Linked DNA regions of Homo sapiens: region 2 is linked to region 1. Evidence: promoter capture Hi-C in 16 types of primary human blood cells and fetal thymus (Javierre and others, 2016). All regions are on one chromosome and are shown on one strand. The core of a region is centred on a gene start or on the middle of the fragment in contact, and the rest is flanking DNA. Distances in the headings are between cores, read along the strand shown. Region 1 holds the start of METTL6 (methyltransferase 6, tRNA N3-cytidine). Region 2 overlaps SH3BP5 (SH3 domain binding protein 5).

Region 1 (4,115 bases), core at 1,137-3,636:
GGTCCAGAATATGAGAGGTCTCCGACCCCATGGAGCAGACGATCAACAAGAGAACTAATAAGCAAAAGCTAATACTGGTACTTCATTTGTCATCCAACATTAACAATTTGGTGTGGAGGAAAAAAACAGCACAATGGCTAACTCGGCTCTGGAGTTAAACTGCCAGCACCCAAATCTCAACTCCTCCCCTGCATTCTATCCTTGGGTAAATCACTTAAACAGCTCTGTGCCTCAATTTTACCTTGGGGACAAATGAGTACAATACTAATACTTACACTTCACAGAGCCGGTATAAGGGTCAAATGATAGGCCATGTAGAAAACAGCCATGGTAAATAGTTACTAACATTAACTATTATATTATTCTGAATCTGTCACTGAAGTCACTTAGCATGAATTTATATTTTTGTTTTTAAAATTTTTAATGTTTAAAATTTTAAAATTCAGAACATAGGGTCTCACTATGCTGCCTAGGCTTGGCTAATTCATGTTGACTATTCACAGGCACAAGCCGCCTGCCTCAGCCTCTGGAGTAGCTGGCAATAGCCACCAGACCTGGCTCTTGAATTTAATATATAATGTTTACAACTATCAGATCAGCTTAAAGAAATAGAAAACACCCACTAAAGTTCTCTCTCCTATATGTTAACCAAACCAGAAACTGCTAAAACTTTGGTGTTAAGACCAAACAGTATATTTCTCTCCTAAAACGCAAAGCATTTTGATAGGCTTCTTAAATTCTCTACTTCGCACTCTCCCTAGGAATGCAATACAGCACACCTCTTCACATTTTTTTTTCTTTTGAGACAGAGTCTCGTTCTGTCACCAGGCTGGAGTGCAGTGGCACAATCTCGGCTCACTGCTATCTCCGCCTCCCGGGTTCAAGCGATTCTCCTGCCTCAGCCTTCCAAGTAGCTGGGACTACAGGCGAGCACCACCACACCCAGCTAATTTTTGTATTTTTAGTAAAGACGGGGTTTCATCATGTTGGCCAGGATGGTCTCGATCTCTTGACTTCGTGATCCGCCTGCCTTGGCCTCCCCAAGTACTGGGATTACAGGCATGAGCCATGGCACCCTCTTCACATTTTAAATGAAGAACAGCTCAGATAAGGCGTAATATTAGCTTACCTCTCTACATGATCTTAGCTCCTCAAACTCTCTGGTGGTCCAGTGTCTGTCTTTGAAGAAATTAGTGCTATTTCTTTTGTAAAAAAGATCCCAATTTTTCTGAGCCTCTTGTTCCAATTTCTGCTGTTTAAAATCAGACACCAAAGTTTGGTCTCTTTTCAGTTTCTCCTCTTCTTCAGAGGTGAGAATCCTTGCCTGCAGCCCTTTCCTTTGCAAAGAAGCCATCTCTGAAACTGACGGTAACACTTAACACAGCTGAAGATTCTCCATCACCAAATAATATGAATCCACGCTAATGGATCAGATACATTTCCTGAGGTGAGTTTCACGCCTCAAACAGCACAGGGGGCTTCGCAGAGAAAAGAATTAGATTCTGGTTAGTGGTTACAGTTCAAGACGCCAGGTTCAATTCACCAAATGTTTATGAGATGCAGACTGTACAAAAAAAAATCCTTCCCGCTATATGAGAGGTCACAAAGAAGACAAACACACAGTCCCTACCTTCAGTGGGCTTACATTCATTTCAGTGGCCAGACTATCTCATGCACCATACTTTTATTCAAACCAGATGAGTCAACTATTACAATAAATCGATTTAGTTTACGAAAAAGGACGCTCTCAAGAACTGACTGGGAAACCTTGCGAAGAAAATATTCCTCAATTTTCGGTGCCCGCGAAAGGGGTGACTTAAAAACCACAATGGCCTTAGCTGGAAGCGGGTGGTCAATTGTCAGATACAAGTGAGGTCATCGTTTCCCAAGGGTCGGACCTCCGTTTTTTCGGGGGAAATGAAGCTAAGCCTGGGTGGGCTCATTTCCTGATCACACTCACAAGAGGCTGTCATAGGAACCAGAGGGAGCGTCACTTTGCAGGGACTGAGACCCTCGCACCGCCATCACCGGGCAAAGTGGAGAAAGAGACCCAATGACGCGTGGCTGAGGTCCCGAGGATCCATCTCAGGACCCTCAGGATAGACTAGGCTGCATGGGCCCCTAGACCCTGAGGAGGGCGTCCATGATGGCTAGCCGACCCGCGTTAATTTAGTCAGCCACGCTCAGGGCTCACCGTCATCAGTTCCTAAATTCACCTGCAGGGCTAGGGCCAGGCGCACTCACCCCACAGCCAGCCCCACTGGGCCTCGGAGGCAGAATACGGGAAGAACCGCGAAACAACCCTAAACCAATTCTGAGGACCACGAATTCGGATTATCCGGGAGTTCTTTTGCCATGGCACCGCCCCCGCCACTTCCGCTAGGAACCCGGAAGTTCCTACCCGACGCCGGAAGTCCCACGGCCTTGCCTCCTCAGATTCCTCTCTCACCCCCACGCAGAGGAGAGAACTTGCTTCTGGACCCGGGTGGGTGCCGGCTCGGCTCTCCTTGTCTTCCAGAGCGGTGGCCCGGAAGCACAGTCCTCCCAGACGCCAGCGCCAGAAGCTCGGATCGCGGCTGCACCGGGAGAGCGCCGATCTGGGTGCGAGGCAGGTGCGGGGCCATGAATGGGACCGCAAACCCGCTGCTGGACCGCGAGGAACATTGCCTGAGGCTCGGGGAGAGCTTCGAGAAGCGGCCGCGGGCCTCCTTCCACACTATTCGTTGTAAGTCAGCGCTCCCCACGGTTCCCTTCGGCCGCTCCAGCCGCCACATATCAACCTTGACTCCTTCCTTTCTTCCCTCGGCCCTTCAGATTCCAGGGAACCCCCTGCCAGCGTCAGTTACTTTCTCTCGAACCCCAAATCCTTTGGGACATCGATTTGTCCCTTCTTTTACCCAGATTATTTCTCCCAAATCTTCGTCACTCCCTACTATTCTTCTACCTCACAGTCTCAAACACTAGTTCCAAAGGTCTTTGGCCTCTTTCCATTTCCATCCCTCCCCGCCCCCAACCTCGCCCCTAAGGCAAACCTCCCTCCCCCAAGGCAAACCTCCCCCCTCTTATCCGGGTCCACTTCTCCCTCGAAACCCCTCCCCTCCTTTCCGATGCTCCCATCAGGGTTCTCCACATTTAAAAGACGCTTCTTGTTTGTTATGAGCCTCATCCACTGCCTTAGAACCCATTCTCTTCCCTGCTTTTCTCCTCCGACTTGGTCCTGGACTCCCAAATACTGTGCTTTGTCCCCTCTACAGCCAAAGAATTGGCATCCTCTCTGCGCCTCATCAGAGTCTTCTTCCATCTCCTTTCTGTGCTTCATTTGACTTGGATGTCTTTTGAGGTCACCTATACCACCCGGGCTTTTCCTCCAGACCAAGTTCCTTGTGGGTAAAGAGTCAAATCAGAGTTCGTGAGCCTGGGATAGGTTAAAGATTGGTCTACGTTTGGAAGCAGAAGAGAGCAGGCGTAAGGAATGTCCAAATAGTCATTATGCCGGACCTTTTTCTACATAATTATAGACGCTGTTGAGAGAGTGCACTTCCACCCTATGTCCTGGGTGAAGGTTTGGCAGTTAGGAATTGGCTGACAGAGCATCCCTCCGTGATTCATGAACTTCTGGTTTCCGTGGTGCTAACGCTGTTGTTAAGACTTGTTTTTGTCAGAGGACCTAATAGATGTGACTCAACACATGTGAAGAGGGCGTTTTAGATAATGAAATCCCATCTTTGTGTAGTCACTTGCCATGCCATTGCTATGCTTCCTACTGACAGCAGATCCAGCTCTTTCAGAGAGAAGAGATGGGAATAAGATAAGAACATCATTTCCTGAAGAGTTTACTAAGTTGATGTTTTCTTTTGGTGAAGGGCAATGTGGAATTTAAATCATATAGTTCATGTGTGCACCTGTCCTGCAGTTTGAGGCAGGTGTGAATGTGAATTAAGATGGCTATTATGTTGTATTCTAACTGCAGTTTAGAAACACGAGCAGGATAACTTGCGGAGATACAGTTCAGTTGTCTGCTATGAACATCTACGAAGTGTCTTTGTTAAAGCTGTGGAACTGGCTGAGAGTGGTGGCTGACACTATAATCCCAGTACTTTGGGAGGCCGAGGTCG
Region 2 (4,115 bases), core at 981-3,480, 130 kb before region 1:
ACAGTGTGTCCTTCCCCTCAAGCCTTTCCCCTCAAGCCTTCCTGATGGGCAGCATCTCCCGCCAACACACACACACACAGTGACACACTCCCTAGCTTCTTCCCTTTGCCATCTACATCAGAGCCACATGGTTCAGCGCACTAACAAATAAGCCTCTCCATGTGGCTCTTGGCAAATACAGTCAGTCCTCATTATTCACAGCTTCCGTATTTGTGAATTTGCCTACTTACTAAGCTTTATTTGTAACCCCAAAATCAACACTTGCAGTGTTCTTGGGGCCATCCATCGACATGCACAGAGTGGTGAAAAAATGAGCTACCTGATACATACGTTTCTAGCTGATGTCCAACAAGAAGCCACCCTGCCTTCTTGTTTTGGCTCTCATACTGTACACAAGTGTCCTTTCCTCGGTCCTTTTAGTGCTGTGTTTTTGACATTTTTGTGCTTTTTGTTGATGATTTTTCTCTATAAATTGGCCTCCAAGTATAGCAATTAAGTGCTTTCTAGTGCTCCTAAGTACAAGAAGGCTGTGATGCGCCTTATGGAGAAAATGCTTGCGTTAGATGAGCTTCGTTCAGGCAGAAGTTATACCACTGTTGGCTGTGAGTTCAGTGTTAATGAGTCAACAAAACGACACATGCAGAAAAAGGAAGAGGAAATTTGCCAATCTGAACATGAGTTCACTCAAGTAAGTGCTAAAGTAACATCCGCTGTGCATGACGAAGCTATGGAAAAGATGAAAACATGGCTGGATTTGTGGATTATCTGGCACTAAGCCTGAGAGGTCATGACAGATTAAAAAAGCAGAGTGGACAGCATCATCATGAGGCTAAGAGCCAAAGAAGTTTATAGTCACATCACCCAGAGTCAGGAGAACATTCAACCCTTTGCAGCTAGTGTTTTATTATCAAGAAATATTGCATATAATTGATTGTAAGAAACACACTAAATAAGGGGTCTTTAAACAGAAACACACATATAACAAGGTTATGTATTGATCAGCTGACAAAAATGTTGTGACCAGAGGCTCTCAGGAACCTAACCTCTATTTCCCCTAGGAGCAAAGCCTTGGTACTTGCTAATTCAGTGTCTGTGGCAACTTTATAGAATATGACTACCACAGATAATGAGAACTGATTGTATTTACCTCTGCCATAACACCACCTTCAAGAAGATGGGGCTCCTGGAGGATACAGACCAACTGTATACTCCACAGTGGCCACTGCAGACAAAGGGGAGATGCTTTTCTTTGCCAATCCCCTGACCTGCTATAATCCTCCCACAGTCTCACTCCATACCTCAAATGGGGAAATCATATACACACACACACACACACACACACACACCCCTATCCAGGTCAGTAACAAAGATTCTACTTTTGCTCAAAACAGCCCATCCCACACCCTTTTATAAGACTGCCATGAGGGGAATGTCAGCTCCACAAGGACAGGATCTCTGTTCTATGTTTGATAGGTCAACAAGTGGCTAGAACAATACCTGGCATATGGTAGGTGCTCAGTCAATAGCTACCGAAGAAAAGAAAATAATAAATTTTTTTAAATCCCCACACAGACATGTAAAGTAATAACCTACATTTGACATATCCTTGAGTTTATATCCTACCTTTGCAGAACATCAGCCTCTCATCCTCCACTTACGAAGTGTTTTTCCTTTTTTTTTTTTTTTTTGAGACAGGGTCTCACTCTTTCACCCAGACTAGAGCGCAGTGGTGCGATCACAGCTCCACGCAGCCTTGACTTCTCAGGCTCACGCAATCCTTCTACCTCAGCCTCCTAAGTAGCTAGGACCATAAGCAAGCACCACCATGTCTGGCTTCTTAAAAAAAAAAAAAAAAAAGAAATGGTGTCTCACCATGTTGCCCAGGGTGGTATTGAACTCCTGGGCTCAAGCAATCCTCCCACCTCAATCTCCCAAAATGCCAGGATTAGAGGCATGAGCCACCACTCCTGGCCATGGCAGGCTTTCTACAAACAAAATCAATGCCTAGAATTTCCCAACAAAGGATCACTATAATACTCTGTTCCTCTAGGATTAACATAATAGTTCAGGAGATTAATTGATATGCTCGACCCATTTCATTTCATTCAAAACACGATTCTCCATCCATTCAAGGCCCATGCCACACTATCCCTTTGGGCACAGAGTGCTTTTGATCAGTCAAAAGGTAAGTCAGCTACTCCCTCCCTCATCATTTTCGATCCTCCAGCACATTCTGCCCTCACAAATAACTCACTATGTACTCAACCTACCTGGGCTCACTCTTCCACCTGGCACAATCTCTCTATCTTCCATAGCCCCCTCCCAGCCAGGAGAGGCCTGTTTCCTCTTCTACCCACAGGTTCTTTGTGGTGGTGATCTTTTTTTTATTACAAGGCAGCAGATTCACCAGATACTCAACATTTGATAGAAAAATACATCTAGGATAATCTTACATTTATTGGATCCAAATGCTTTACATGTACTAATTCAATCGCTGTAGTAAATTGCAAAAGTAGCTAGAATAAGTTGCAGGTAGACTTTATCGTTCCCAATTCTTGAATTTGGACTGGCCCCATGACTGACTTTAGCCCGTAAGATGTTAATAAACATGAAACAAGCAGAGGCTTGAAAAGGGCTCACCCTTTTTGTTGCTGGAATCTCAACACTGTATGAAAATGACCAGGCTAGCCTGGTGAATGAAAGATACACGTGGCCTAGTCACCCCTGCTACCCTAGCTGACCACCAACCAACTGCTTGACAGATAAGGCCAAGGTCAGCCAGCCCCCAGCTAATCCATCAACTGACTGTATATGTGAGAGATCAGCTCTAAGCCTGAGATCAGAAAAACTGGCCAACAAAACCATGAGCTAAATAAATGTTTTAAGCCATTAAGTTTTAGGGTGGTTGGCTTCATAGCAAAAGCTAACTGATATACAACTTTTCTTTTTCTTTTTTTTTTTTTTTTTTAAAGAGCCAAGGTCTCACCCTGTCCTCCAGGATGGAATGCAGTAGCACAATCATAACTCACTGCACTCTGGAACTCCTGGGCTCAAGCAATCCTCCTGCCTCTGCCTCCTGAGTAGCTGGGACCACAGGCATGCACCATCATGCCTGGCTACTTTTTGTAGAGACTGGGTCTCACTACATTGCCTAGGCTGGCCTCGAACTCTTGGCTTCAAGCAGTCCTCCCGCCTTGGCCTCCCAAAGTGCTGGGATTACAGGCCTGAGATCCCTCAATTAGCCAACTCCATTTTATGGATGAAAAAAAATGAGGCACAGAGATTAGGTAACCTGCCAAAGGTCCCACAGCTTTTAAGAGGTGAGCCTACAAGTCACTCTACAAGTTTCAAATGTTTTCCCACTCATCTCCTTTCCTAAAGGAGGTTATATGTAAGACATGGCCTTATATAGCCCCACAGACACAAAACAGGCAACTTTCAGCACTAAATAATCCGCACTATTTTGCATTTGTGCTGCCCATCAAGTTTGCAAAGTGCTCTGCTCTCTTCTGACGCATTCCAACCATTCAAAAATAACAAGGGTTGCCCAATGTCCATGGATGAATGGATAAATAAAACGTGGTATATACATTCAGTGAAAGGAAATTCTGACACATGCTATAACATGGATGAATGTTGAGGACATTATGCTAAGTGAAATAAGCCAGTAACGAAATGACAAATATTGTATGATTCCTCAGTACTTATATGAGGTACCTAGGGTAGTCAAATTCATAGAAATAGAAAACAGAAGTGATGGTTGCCTGAGCTTGGGAGAGGGGAGGATTGGGGAGTTAGTGTTGAATGGGTACAGTTTCAGTCTGGGAAGATGCAAGGGTTCTAGAGATGGATGGTGGTAAGAGTTGCACAGCAAGTGAATGTGCATTCACAATGTGAATGCCTTAATGCCATCCTTAAAGAATGGTTAAAATGGGGGAGAGGCAAAAAAGAAAAAAAAGAATGGTAAAAATGGTACATTTTGTGTTGTATGTACCTTACCACAATTTTCTTAAAGAGGAGAAAAAGAAGGGTTGGGACTGATAGTGATAAAATGACAGGTCCAAAGCCACTGTTAGACCAGTCAGCACCCAGGGAGCCAGGTAAGCAAGATACAC

What was found. Contacts are between HindIII fragments. The CHiCAGO score rates a contact against its expected background, and 5 or more counts as called.
Region 2: a contact is called between a fragment that was not itself captured here and the fragment with the promoter of METTL6 in region 1, in 1 of 17 cell types (monocytes). The highest score is 5.1, in monocytes.

What each region holds. Positions count from the first base shown.
Region 1 is chr3:15,425,158-15,429,272 of GRCh38, forward strand. It overlaps METTL6 (methyltransferase 6, tRNA N3-cytidine), which reads right to left and starts at 2,387. Exons shown (of 6, transcript NM_152396.4): 1 at 2,245-2,387; 2 at 1,130-1,478. The coding sequence starts at 1,354. EAF1 (ELL associated factor 1) reads left to right here and starts at 2,441. Exons shown (of 6, transcript NM_033083.7): 1 at 2,441-2,725. The coding sequence starts at 2,623. RefSeq lists a silencer at 2,358-2,521 and an enhancer at 2,518-2,797. The HindIII fragment of the contact is 9,714 bases long and covers 1-4,115 here.
Region 2 is chr3:15,295,024-15,299,138 of GRCh38, forward strand. All of the region lies in intron 3 of SH3BP5 (SH3 domain binding protein 5), which reads right to left. Among named protein-coding and RNA genes, the nearest start is that of SH3BP5, 36 kb to the right of the region's middle. The HindIII fragment of the contact is 3,996 bases long and covers 233-4,115 here.